Linked DNA regions of Homo sapiens: all the other regions are linked to region 1. Evidence: promoter capture Hi-C in 16 types of primary human blood cells and fetal thymus (Javierre and others, 2016). All regions are on one chromosome and are shown on one strand. The core of a region is centred on a gene start or on the middle of the fragment in contact, and the rest is flanking DNA. Distances in the headings are between cores, read along the strand shown. Region 1 holds the start of SLC43A1 (solute carrier family 43 member 1). Region 2 overlaps PRG3 (proteoglycan 3, pro eosinophil major basic protein 2). Region 3 overlaps P2RX3 (purinergic receptor P2X 3). Region 4 holds the start of SSRP1 (structure specific recognition protein 1).

Region 1 (3,403 bases), core at 1-2,500:
CCCTTTTATCTGAGGCCTTCTTGGAGCTTTCTGTAGTCATTCTTGTTTTGTTTTTGAGACAGAGTCTTACTCTGTCACCCAGGCTGGAGTGTAGTGGCATGATCTTGGCTCACTGCAGCCTCCATCTCTCCAGCTCAGTGATCCTCCCACTTCAGCCTGCTGGGTAGCTGAGACTGCAGGTGCACACCACCATGCCTGGCTATTTTTTTTTCTTTTTTGTAGAGACGGGGTTTCACCATGTTGTCCAGGTTGGTCTCGAACTCCTGAGCTCAAGCGATCCTCCTGCCTTGGCCTCCCAAAGTTCTGGGATTACAGGCATGAACCACCACACCTGGCCACCAGTATCACTCTTTTTTTAAAAAAATTTTATTTTTATTTTAAGTTCTGGGGTACATGTGCAGAATGTGCAGGTTTGTTACGTAGGTAAATGTATGCCGTGGTGGTTTATTGCACCTATCAACCCATCACCTAGGTATTAAGCTCAGCATGCATTAGCAGCACTCTTAACACACAATTAAACTCACATGTAATGAGATTACTTCTCATTACTCCACACCATAGTAGTCTATTTTACAGATGAGGATACTGAGGCTCAGGGAGGCTGAGAGATTTACCTGGAGTCAATCAATTGTTGATCTGGAAGCATCCGATCACCAGGTCTTCTGAAATAATGACAGCAGCAACAATTAACATTATGCTTACTATGCCAAATGCTATGCTTAGCATTTTACCTGCATCACAATCGCGATTCCTTTGGGCAGTTAGGTAGGTTCCATTTTAACCGAATTTAAAGAGGAGGAAGCTGAGGCTCAGAGAGGTAACTTGCCCTAGGTAACCCAGGGTAGTCAGTTAAAAAGTCAAGACTCAGACCTCGATCTGACTAACTCCAAAGAAACCCGTGCCACTCTGCCTCTCGGAAAACACTGCTTCCAGCTGCACAGTTCAAAACCCCACCCAAGGCGGCCCTGAATCGCGGTCAGTCGGCTTCAGCCGAATCGCACTTTGTTTTGAACAAGGATACAGAGGGCGCTGCCTGATGTTAGTCTGGGGGCTTGGGGGAGAAGATGGGGGTCCAGGGTGGAAATGTAGGTGCTGGGGCTGTGCCAGAGGGAGAGTGTCCGGGACCAGCGGGCGAGTCACGTGCGCGTGAAACTCGACCTAAGGGGAGGGGAAAAGAAGGGAGCCCCCGCCCCCACCTCGGGGCGCAGCTCCGGACGCGTGTAAATACAACTATCAACTCCGCAGATCCACTTCATCCAAGCCCAGCTTCGCAGACCTCTGGCGCCCGGCGGGTTCCCAGTTCCCCCGCTTCTTCCGAGGAGACAGCGGAGGCGAGGCCACCGGGCTGTCAGGCTGAAGCTCCGTGGCCGCCGGGTCCTGCACGCAGAGAAGACCCCAGCGCCGGCGCGGCTCAGGGCTGGGCCCACGGGACTCCGGACGCGCCGCGAAAGCGTTGCGCTCCCGGAGGCGTCCGCAGCTGCTGGCTGCTCATTTGCCGGTGACCGGAGGTGAGCAGCGTGGGCGGGGAGGGGGCGCGCGTAGGGTCTCCGGCTATGCGTCGGCTGAGAGACACCGAGGCCGGCTCCCGCCGACACTGCCAGGCTTCCCAAGGAAAGACCGTTACTTGCGCCCGCGGTCCCGCGGCACAGTGTCCCATCTCGCCAAGCGCGTCCTTCCCTTTTCTTTTCTCTGACCCCTCCGACTCTTCTCTTCCTCCCGGGTCCCCGCTCGCTGCACTTCCTCTGCTTAGAGCTGCGCGTTTGCCAGAGTTCCAGCGGACCTCCTGGAGCGCTTGAACCCAAAGCCCCGTTTCACAGATGAGAATACCGAGTCCCCCTGGAAGAAGTGACTGGTACTTCCTCCCCTCTCTCTGGGTCTTTCTTGCCCTTCTCCTCTCCGCTTTCCTCGGTCTCATCCCAGTTGTCGCTCCCCGCCCCCGCGCCGCCCGCGTTCCCTCTCCTCCCGCCGAGGCTGCAGCGGCCGCGGCGGGGGGAGCTGGGGCTCTTTCCCTCCCTTTGGTAAACACACCCGCCCGCCAGCCCATCCGCCACCGCTGCCCTTATAAAGTCAGCAGCCGCCAGACTTCCTGCCGAAGTCCGAGCCCCCTCCCGGGGCTGGAGGGGGGCAAGCGGGTTCCGAGGTGCAAAGCCTGGTGCCCCGAGCCCTGCGGAGTGAGTGAGGGGCGCGCGGGGGAGGAGGGAACCGAGGAGAGCCCGTCCTGGGTCTCCCTCCACGTGGCAGCTGTTGGCTTGGCCCGAGAGACTGTAGGGTCGTGGGTCACCTGATACGGAAAGGGGGAGGGCTTGCTGTCGCCCGGCCCCAGAGGGAAGGAGAGGTCTTGGAGGGGCAACTGGAAGATGGGGTCGTAGGGTAGCCTTGAACTTGCCCTTCTTCCTGCCAGCTTCTAGGGGTCTTTCCTGGCGCGAGAGTCCGGACATGGGCCCGCGGTGCTTCAGAGCGCGCTCTGCCCCTTGCTGTCCTCTGGGGACCTGGGCAGATGCGGACTTTCTCCCCAGCAGCCCGGCCCTGAGCGCCCTGGCCTGGGTGAGAGAACCCGGCAGCCTGCTAGGAAGCTGCAGCGCGCAGACAGGACCTTCCTTGTTTCCGATAGTGGCTCAGCGGGAGCCCCGTGCCGCGTGCACCTCTGGCACTGCTAGTGCGCGCGGAGCCAGCTCCTTGGCACCGGCTGGGAAGCCCAGGGCTCTATGGGGCCTCCATGAGGGGCTCCTCGCGGGCTGGCCCGAGAGGTCTCGGGTGCCACCATGATGCAGGACCCTTCCCTGGGGCCACTGGGGGGCCCTTCACCCAGCGCTCTGTTTCTGTGCAGGCTCGGGGCCAGCATGGCCCCCACGCTGCAACAGGCGTACCGGAGGCGCTGGTGGATGGCCTGCACGGCTGTGCTGGAGAACCTCTTCTTCTCTGCTGTACTCCTGGGCTGGGGCTCCCTGTTGATCATTCTGAAGAACGAGGGCTTCTATTCCAGCACGTGCCCAGGTATGCCTGAAAATGGGCTGGGTGGGCTGGGGGGAGGGATGGCAAAGGGGCAGGTGGAAGCCAGAAAAGGTTAGGTGGCCAGGTGGACAGAAAGCAGGGTCAGCAGTTGGACAGCCTCACTTCTCGACCTCTTCAAACTTCAGGGGGAGATTGGGTGGCACTCTGCCCACTGTTTCATTTATCTAATCCAGTGGTCACTGAATGCCAGGTGTCCTGCTGGTCATCCAGACCCTGGGACTAATAGGCAGAGTCCTAAGCCTCTGACAGCCTCAGGTCTAGAGCTCTTTGAAGGAGACGTGCTGGGAGAGGAATTTCTTAATAGGGCTATCATAAGACAAGGGAGAGCTGCACAAAGTGGAGTATGAATATAAAGGGCCCCACATCCTTCCCTTTTCAGGAGCTGGGAGCC
Region 2 (3,330 bases), core at 368-2,867, 140 kb after region 1:
GGCAACCTGGGAATGGGCAAGGCTCCTGTGTGGCCCTATGCACCAAAGGTGAGGGGGAAGGGCACCAGGGCAGGGAGAAGGGATAGTAAAGTGGATTCTTAATACTACCCCTTTGAGCTGCCTGAACACACCTCCCCAAACTCAGACCCTCCCGCTGACTGAAGAACAAAAGTCCTGTGTGTAAGGAGGGCTGAGACATAGGGAATCCTCAAAGCAAAACCAGGTGATAGGAGTTCTGGAGACAGGGGGGTGGGCTGGATGGTGTGTGTGTGGGAAAATTCTTTGCCTCCTTTGATATGAGGGCAATAAATTCGAACAACAGGTATGACCAATGAGAGTAGCGGAAGTGGATATAAGGCGTGGATGAGAGAAAAGGAAGGATGGGGGAATTAGGGATGGCTGAGAGACAAGATGCCCACCTCCAACAGCAGACATGGGCAGCAGCATGGGTGCCAGATGTGAGTTTAGTATAGTGGCTGAGACCATATGTGCTAGAGCAAGACTGCTGCAGTTCACATCCCAGTGCTGCCACTTGCCAACTGAGATACAGGCACGTTGTTTATCTCTACTAAGCCCCCGTTTCCTCATCTGTGAAATGGGGATGATGACAGCACCCACCTCTTGGAGTCATGGTAAGGATTAAATGCAATAGTCCACCTAAGTCCATCTAATGCAGTTAGCACACAGCCTAGCTAGCAGTAAGAGCTCAGCAAATGTGAGCCAGTAGGGATGTGGGGCAAGCACACAGCTGGCAGATGACGATGGCCATAGATGGGGACATAGGGGGCCCCTGAGGAGGGAAAGAGGTGAAGCCCAGGCCAGACCCCGCAGGGCGGTGGACTTCACTGTGCTCTGTGCTGCTAGGAGGTTATTGGCGACGAGCTCAATGCGACAAGCAACTGCCCTTCGTCTGCTCCTTCTAAGCCAGCGGCACGGAGACCCTGCCAGCAGCTCCCTCCCGTCCCCCAACCTCTCCTGCTCATAAATCCAGACTTCCCACAGCATTTCCTGACTCTCGTTTCTTTATTGCTCACTTTGGGGATTACTCCAGTTCGGAAAAATCCTGGAAGCATTCACTCTCGGGAAAGTGAGCCATGGCCGAGTAGGGCGGCCCGGTGGGGGCTGGCGGCGGCGCTGGGCGGCAGAGCGGGACCTGGGGCGGCCGGAAGGCCTCCCCGGGCGTGGGGTAGGGTTGGGAGGATGGGGACAGGGGTGTGGGTGGTGGGAGTAGAGGTGGTGGAGATGGTTTGGGAGTAGGGGTGGGAGTGGGAGGTGGGGGGATGGGAGTAGGGGTGGGGGGATGGGTTTAGGGATGGTGTGGTGCAGGTGAGGGGTTGGAAGTAGGGGTAGGGGTGGGAGGTGGGGGGATGGGAGTAGGGGTGGGAGTGGGGACGTGAGGGGTTAGGAGTAGGGGTGGGGGTGGGAGATGGGGGGATGGAAGTAGGGATGGGTGTGGTGCAGGTGAGGGGTTGGGATTAGGGTTAGGGGTGGGAGATGGGGGATGGGAGTAGGGATGGGTGTGATAGAGGTGAGGGGTTGGGAGTATGGGTAAGGATTGGGGAGTGGGGGGTGGGAGTAGAAGTGGTGGAGATGGTGGTGGGGATGGGAGTAGGGTTGGGTGTGATGGAGGGAGGGGTTGGGAGTATGGGTAAGGACTGGGGGAGTGGGGGATGGGAGCTCAGTTGGTGTGGGGTGCTTTGCTGGTCCTCTTGCTTTGTTTGGATTCAGTATGCGGTGCAGGGTGGGGTGGCTTTCCAAAATAAAGGTGATGGAGCTGTTTTAAGAGTTGGTGTGGAACACTGAGGTCCCACCTAGGGGACAACACGAGGAAGTGGGGAGAAAGCAGTCTTGTCTTGGGGCAGACTGCTCCTCTGGCCCTATGCCTTTCTGGCTTCTGGTAATGGCCCCCAATTTTATTTCCAGCCACCTCTGTGAGTCCCCAGCCTCCTCTGAGGCATGTTCCCCATCCATTCCCAGGAGGGTGGTGGTCCTCCCCTTCCTTCCTCCTGGCCTACCTCTGTAGAGGGGCCACATCCTTAGGAGGGAGCGACTTCTCCCCAGCAGGGCCCTGGGCACAAAGCCAGGGTGTCTGGTAGTTCCCATTCCCAGTTCTGCAGCCCCAGGCCTCTGTGTCTCTCCGTCCCCCACTTTCTCAGACCCTGGGGACATTGAGAGACATTATTGTTGTTGCTATTAACTTTGTCACAGATGAGGTACTGGGCTCCAGGAAGGATGTAGAGTTGATGAAGTAGGAAACTCAGAACTGAGACTGGGTATCAAGACGGTAGAGAGCCCTGGATTGTAGGGGGTGGAGGCAGTGGGGAGAGACAGACTTCTTGGGAGTGTGTTTCCACATGGGGCCCAGGGAGAATACAAAAGTATTTCTGTGTGTGCACATGTACATGTGTGCGTATATATCTTGGTGTGTACATGTGTCAGTGTTTGTGTACATGTGTATACCTGTATATGTGTGAATTTGTATATGTAAATGTGCATAAATCTGTGAGTCAGTATGAATTTGCATGTTGAGTATGCATATGTTTATATATCTCTGTGTATTTATGGATATGTCTGTCTGCGTACACCTGTGAATGCATATGTCTCCATAGCTTTGCAGCCTTATGTTCCCAAATCTCTCTGTGTATGCATATGTGTCTTCCTCTGTGTCTTTGACTGGTATGTATGTGGGTGGGTATATGTCTCAGTGTGTGTCTGAGCATAACTGCATACAGGACTATGTTTGTGTGTTTGTGTATATCTGTACCAGCATCTGATGGGATGTGGTTTCAGGAGCGAAAAGAACTTTTCCCAGATGTGCTGTGTTTCTAAGGGTGCTAAAGTTGAGGGGACAGGATCAGAGAGCCCTGGGGAAAGTGGGTGATGGAGAAAGCAGAGAGATGAGGCCCTTCAACATGGGCAGGCCTCTGGCAGCAGGAGAATGGGTGCTGTCATTGCCAGGGACTTTACCCATGCTGGGCCCCAGGGACTGTCTCTACATGAAAAGGCCTGTCCTCAGTAGAGGGGTCTGTCCAACTGCCATGGATGGAAATTGGGTCAGGCAGCTCCTAATCACAGCATGTCAAGTGGTCCTTCTCCCAAAGGGCATGGAAGGGGAGCTACCTGGGATTAGGGCCCCACACAGATCCACACACTACACACTACAATAGTCCCTTCTTTTTTTTTTTTTTTAACTTTTATTTTAGGTTCATGGGTACATGTGCAGGTTTGTTACACAGGTAAACTCATGTCACGGCGGTTTATTTGTTGTTCAGATTATTTCATCACCCAGGTACTAAGCCTACTACCCAATTTTTTTTTTTTTTTTTTTTT
Region 3 (3,004 bases), core at 32-2,531, 160 kb after region 1:
TTCTGCCTGGAAGCAGGACAGGCGCCAAATCTCCGAGCTTCATGAAAGCTGCTGTGGGTACATTTCCAACATAAAACGATCACTAGAAACACCTACCGCACCAGGAACATCTAGCAGCTGAACAAATGTTTTTTTGTCCCAGACACCAAAAGAGGAAATCCAAAACTGCGTTGCCTTTTAGTAGCAAAGCTGTCTTAGGAACTCTCAGAGGAGAAACAAGAAATCAGGCATTTTGAAATGCAGTTTCGATTCTCTCCCGTCAATCACACCAGCCATCACTACCAGGTATATCTCTTAGAGCTATTTTTTTTTCCCCTTTTTTGCAGGCCATGTGATGGCGCAAGGCATGCTGGAAGCAATGGATATAGATCAAATCCCTGGGTTTGAGTCCTGATGTGCCTCTTAATTAGGCTGTATAATCTCAGGCAAGTTTTGAAATCTTTCTGAGCCTACCTTGGGGGTGGGGGAAGATGGTGAGCTGTGATCTGTCAAAAATAGGTGTGAAAGGGCTTTGCAAACTTAACTCTAGGGCTCTTAATCTGAGGTGCAGGGATAGGCTTTCATTTATTATTTATTTTTTAGAATTTTTAATCTTATTTTTGTAGAGAAGGAGTCTTGCTATTGCTGCCCAGGCTGGTCTCAAACTCCTGGCTTCAAGGGATCCTCCCGCCTCAGCCTCCCAAAGTGCTGGGATTACAGGCAGGAGCTTCCACACCTGGCTACGGGATAGGCTTTTAGAGGGCCTCAAAGTCTTGGAATTTTATGCTGCATAAATATAAATGCATAGAATAAGAACTGGAAAGAAACTCATTAAACCGTCCCAGATGTTAATTCCCTGCAAAGGGTGCAGGCCTGGGGGAATGAAGGGGACTTCCCATGTCATTACTTTGTATATATCAGTATTGGTTGGATTTATTACTCTGAGAATGTATTTGTATCTTATTTGTAGAAATGAAATAACCTGGCTAGGCGTGGTAGCTCACGCGTATAATCCCAGCACTTTGGGAGACCAAGGTGGGTGGATTACTTGAAGTTAGGAGTTCGAGACCAGCCTGGCCAACATGTTGAAATCCCGTCTCTACTAAAAATACAAAAATTAGCTGGGCGTGGTGGCGGGCACCTGTAATCCCAGCTACTGGGGAGGCTGAGGCAGGGGAATTGCATCAACCCGGGAGGTAGAGGTTGCAGTGAGCCGAGACTACTGCACTACTGCATTCCAGCCTGGGCAACAGAGCAAAACTCTGTCTCAAAAAAAAAAAAAAAAAAAAAGAAATAAAATATCCTTTAAGAAGAGAACTTGCCTGTGAATTTTCTCATGTCTATGAATACATGCATCTTCCTTGGACAATGGTCCCCATTTTCATCGGGGGCATAAAGCAGTTAGAGACCTCTGAAAGTTAAGGAAGGGCTGTAATTTCACAGATGAAAGTTGTCAGGACTTGTCCTGGACATCTCTGCAGGTGCCCCTCAGGTCCGTGCTCCTCCCTTCCTCGCCCTGCCCTGGGCTGCCTCAGTGGGCCACTTTGCCTCAGCTCTGGCTTCTGGTGGGGCTCTCCTGAGTCACAGCCACATGTCAGGCTGTCCTCTGCTCACAGCTCTGTCCGTCTCCATGTTCCTGTCACTGCTTCCTCTCCTCGCCTCTTCAGACCTGGGTGGTAACCAGTGTCCTGTTTCTGGCCCTGGCACTGCACTATCTGTGTGGTTTCCGTACACCCTGCCCACACCTTTGAAACAGTCCCTTTATTAAACTCTCCTCAGATTACCCAGTTAGAATGTGCCATCTGTTTCCTGCGGGGACCCTGACGGATACAGTATTTTTAATCTGTCATTGCACCATCAATGCCTATACACTCACGCACACACACACACACTGACACACTCACTCTCAGCCTCACACATTCACCCACTAACAAATACACCCACTCTCACGAACTCGCATGTGCACACACACTCACACACACACACAACATCACCTGTTCCCAGGACTTTGGGAAATATAGTACTCTTGTTAAAATCCTGCTCCTGTGAATTGAGGGTCTACCTGGGCCTCAGAAACCTTGCCAACAGAGAAGAGAGCCTCCTGAAGAACTGCAGGGCTCTGCTGAGGGCGCCTTTCACTTGTGCAGCACTGAACTGGTGACTCTCAACAGTTCTTATTTTTAGAAATTGCTGCATTTTGTCTGCTAGAAATCCAGATGACCCCACCAACTGCAATCTCAGTGTGCTTAGAAAGAGGCTTCATAAAAATACTAAGTTAAAGCGGCCCACGGAGTCTTTAGCCACGCAGAACAGACCAAGGAGTAAAAATAAAATGTCTCCACTAAATTTCAGGTAGGGGAAGAACAGAATCTTTAGGGGATCACAAAAATAAAGATTAACTTGCATGGACAGCACCAAGTACACTGGAGAGGATTTAAAGGGAGGCACATTTTGGCTCAATTTGAGGTCACCTTTCCAATGAATGGAGCAGGCCACTTTGCTTGCCACGGAGATCAGATATCCCCCAGTGTCAGGGTGATTACATGGGCCTGTAATCTCTTACATGGGTCCGTAAACTCCTTTAAATCACAAGGGTCACATTAGGAGTTGAGATCCAATGACCTTTGAGGCTACTCTAAGATGCCCCCTTTGGAACTTCCGCTTCCTCATCTGTAAAGTGACCGCCTTACTCTGGGTGACTGCAAGGGGAACTTCAACAGCTATAAATTCTCAAAATCTCTGATTCTGCAGGCAAAGAGCTACAAAAAATAGGGGCGGGGGGGGGGGAGTGACATTTGGAAGGGAGCTGCGAATGTAATTAGTGATGGAAATGTGAATCTCTAGCTGCCTCTGGATGTCTTAGTTAGCAGATTCAAACACGGCCGAATCTTGGCTGAATAATTCCATTCCCTCCAGAGCAAATGGCAACAGTAGGGGTGTTGAAAAATCTGCCTCTGTTGGAGGGAGCAGCAAATGAATTGTTTGGGAGACAAAAGGCCGGGCTATGAATTGTGCTGCCAGCATC
Region 4 (3,033 bases), core at 103-2,602, 180 kb after region 1:
CTCAGCTCACTGCAACCTCTGCCTCCTGGGTTCAAGCAATTCTCATGCCTCAGCCTCCTGAGTAGCTGGGATTATAGGCACCCGCCACCACGCCTGGCTAATTTTTGTATTTTTAATAGAGACGGGGCTTCACCACGTTGGCCAGTCTGGTCTCAAACTCCTGACCTCAAGTGATCTCCCTGCCTTGGCCTCCCCAAGTGCTAGGATTACAGGTGTGAGCCACCGTGCCTGGCCGGGGATGTTTTCACCTTGTTCAAGTTTCCTCAAATCTGAGAAGTGTGCTAAAGTAGTAATAGGCCCTCAATATCTATTTATTAAACCCAGTTGAATTTATTTTGCTAGATAATGCTGGAATAGCCACTACTCAGAGGTTAAAGCTATGAGTTCAGGGGAGAAGGGTGCATTCCTGTTGTCTCTTACCCCAGGATTGATTTAGCAAGCTGGTGTATTGATTGTCAGGGAAATCTTGAGCTTACATATTCTGTACTAATGTCTTCATGTAGGACACATATCAATAGTCATTCTGAACATACAGTCACTGTGATTATGACAGAAGATAACTGGACTGGTGGTGTTAAGGAGGTCTGGGTCCTACCTAGCCTTGTTGCCAACGCACTGAGACCCTGGGCAACTCACTCCCCTTTGGGTCTCAGTTTTCCCATCAGTAAAAGGAGGTTGGGGTAGAAAAACTAAAACATCTTTTCCAGGTCTGGTCTCTGATGTTGCAAAATGCACTCTGGGATTATACGGGGGAGACCTGGCTTCCGCAACCACAGGATGATGTGGTTTCAAATCAGTTCTGGCTCCAAGGTGAATCTGACACCAGGACTTGAACTGGATAAGGCCGTTTGCCAGCCTCTTGGAGGTACCTATAATTTTCGGTTAAGGATGTGAAAATTTTGGGTGTAGACAGTGAACTTGACAGTTCAGCCAGAAAGCAGTGCACCCACGATGACACCAACACCCGCATACTCTCCGCAGCCAGTGGGAGAGGTCGTTTCCTCCCACAACTGTTCAAATACTTCTCTTCTTGTCCCATCGACTCCTTTCCATGACATAGAAACTATTTTGCAGAGAAACGGGCACGCATCATTCCAATACACACCCCCACCCCACCCCTGTACTAAGTCTGATACAATAAAACTACACAATTTCTCTTTAGTATCTAGTCTCGACTGAAGAAGTGTCTGTAGTTTCTAAAGAGCCCTACACACATTTTCTAGGCCGGATTCCCCCTGGGTGAGAGAGGCTTCACGGCAACCACCCTTCCCTCAGGTCCTCCAGAGTCGCTGACGCTCTATGCGACTGTCTCGCAGGCGGGCCCGACTCGCGTCTCTCTAGCCAGCTCATCCTCTCTGTGGCCTGTGTACGGCTTCCGGTGGCGGGACGCGGGGCCGCGCACGCGGGAAAAGCTTCCCCGGTGTCCCCCCATCCCCCTCCCCGCGCCCCCCCCGCGTCCCCCCAGCGCGCCCACCTCTCGCGCCGGGGCCCTCGCGAGGCCGCAGCCTGAGGAGGTAGGTGGTGGTCGTCCCCGGTCCCAGGAAGGCAGGGGCCCCGCTCCCCCACGGGACCCTCGACATGGACCATTCCGCGTTCGCAACCGCGGGGAGCGGGCGAATCCATTATGTGGGGCGGGGGTGAACCGTGGGTCTGGGGCCGCGGGGTGGTGGGAGCGGTGCGAGGGAAACCCTGCACTCTGAGCTGGATTGGGTCGCGTGCGATGTGCGGGCTCCTGGCAGACCCTGGGGTTCCGCTGCTCGTTGCCATGGCTCCCGCCGGAGCGGCCAGAGCGGGCGTCGGGTTGGGTGTCAGCGGTATTCCGGGCCCGGTTCTCCACCCAGGCCTGGACCTGGACCCTCGGGCACTGCAGCGTCCGTCTGTAGGTTTCCAGGCAGAGGAAATCCTGAGACATCCAGGCGCAGCTGGGAGTTGCTACCTGGCTCCATCCGTGAGCACAGCGAGGTGCTGTCTTTCATGCTTATCTGTCTTCCTCTTGAATTCAGATTCCCAACCTGCTGAGCATCCGCACACCCACTCAGGAGTTGGGGCCCAGCTCCCAGTTTACTTGGTTTCCCTTGTGCAGCCTGGGGCTCTGCCCAGGCCACCACAGGCAGGGGTCGACATGGCAGAGACACTGGAGTTCAACGACGTCTATCAGGAGGTGAAAGGTTCCATGGTGAGAATGGCTTGGACAGGTGATACAAGTAGAGAGAAGGAAGGAGGGTAGAGTTTTTGTCCATTAATGAGAGCTTGCTTTGGTAACGTTATTTTGGAAAAAGAAGACTCAGTATAATGTGTACCTAGTGTCTCCACCAACTCAAGGCAATACTGAGAGATAGTCTCAGAGTTATAGGGACCGTATATGCTGTTCAGTTCCCAATTCCTGTTTTACAAATGAGGAAACTGAGAATCTGTTAAGGGTTCTAGATACCAGAGTCTGGTTTAGAATCTAGACTCCTTGGCACCCTCAGCTGTTGCTCCTGCATTGATAATCTGGCCAGTCCACTTGCAGCAGGAATGTGTGTTAGGTAGAGCTGTAGAACCCAGGACATGCTGTGTACTGTCTCCATGCATCTGGGCCTGCTTTTCTTACAGAATGATGGTCGACTGAGGTTGAGCCGTCAGGGCATCATCTTCAAGAATAGCAAGACAGGCAAAGTGGACAACATCCAGGCTGGGGAGTTAACAGAAGGTATCTGGCGCCGTGTTGCTCTGGGCCATGGACTTAAACTGCTTACAAAGAATGGCCATGTCTACAAGTATGATGGCTTCCGAGAATCGGTGAGATGTCCCATGGCTATAAGCCTCCTTTTTACTGCATCTTCTTATTTTAATCTTCTAGAGACTCGAGGTTCCTTCCTCATGTAACCCTGTGATTGCTAGTTTGGGCTCCTTAGAGCAGGGCTGTGAGGCCATCAGGCAATCAGTGTTTGGCTTTGAGCGTTGAAGTCTTGTGAATTTCTGTGTGCCTTGACTCCAGAAGATTTTCTTCTGTCTTGATTTAGATAGTAGTTTCTGCCTGTGGCTTTTATC

Evidence for each region. The method cuts DNA at HindIII sites, captures the fragments that hold promoters and counts their contacts. A CHiCAGO score of 5 or more calls a contact.
Region 2: a fragment that was not itself captured here is called in contact with the fragment with the promoter of SLC43A1 in region 1 in 6 of 17 cell types (activated CD4 T cells, M2 macrophages, M1 macrophages and 3 more); the score reaches 7.2 in activated CD4 T cells.
Region 3: a contact is called between a fragment that was not itself captured here and the fragment with the promoter of SLC43A1 in region 1, in 9 of 17 cell types (erythroblasts, M0 macrophages, activated CD4 T cells and 6 more). The highest score is 15.2, in erythroblasts.
Region 4: the fragment with the promoter of SSRP1 here is called in contact with the fragment with the promoter of SLC43A1 in region 1 in 15 of 17 cell types (erythroblasts, M1 macrophages, megakaryocytes and 12 more); the score reaches 24.4 in erythroblasts.

The regions. Positions count from the first base shown.
Region 1 is chr11:57,513,549-57,516,951 of GRCh38, reverse strand. SLC43A1 (solute carrier family 43 member 1) reads left to right here and starts at 1,250. Exons shown (of 15, transcript NM_003627.6): 1 at 1,250-1,508; 2 at 2,828-2,994. The coding sequence starts at 2,841. RefSeq lists an enhancer at 1,027-1,096. The HindIII fragment of the contact is 5,778 bases long and covers 1-3,403 here.
Region 2 is chr11:57,374,443-57,377,772 of GRCh38, reverse strand. PRG3 (proteoglycan 3, pro eosinophil major basic protein 2) reads left to right here. Exons shown (of 6, transcript NM_006093.4): 5 at 1-48; 6 at 865-1,004. The coding sequence ends at 923. Among named protein-coding and RNA genes, the nearest start is that of PRG3, 5.0 kb to the left of the region's middle. The HindIII fragment of the contact is 5,955 bases long and covers 1-3,330 here.
Region 3 is chr11:57,353,600-57,356,603 of GRCh38, reverse strand. All of the region lies in intron 8 of P2RX3 (purinergic receptor P2X 3), which reads right to left. Among named protein-coding and RNA genes, the nearest start is that of P2RX3, 17 kb to the right of the region's middle. The HindIII fragment of the contact is 5,121 bases long and covers 1-3,004 here.
Region 4 is chr11:57,334,211-57,337,243 of GRCh38, reverse strand. It overlaps SSRP1 (structure specific recognition protein 1), which reads left to right and starts at 1,352. Exons shown (of 17, transcript NM_003146.3): 1 at 1,352-1,514; 2 at 2,004-2,176; 3 at 2,596-2,781. The coding sequence starts at 2,123. It also overlaps a transcript of P2RX3 not described here. RefSeq lists enhancers at 1,214-1,263, 2,114-2,183 and a silencer at 1,434-1,613. The HindIII fragment of the contact is 4,158 bases long and covers 1-1,414 here.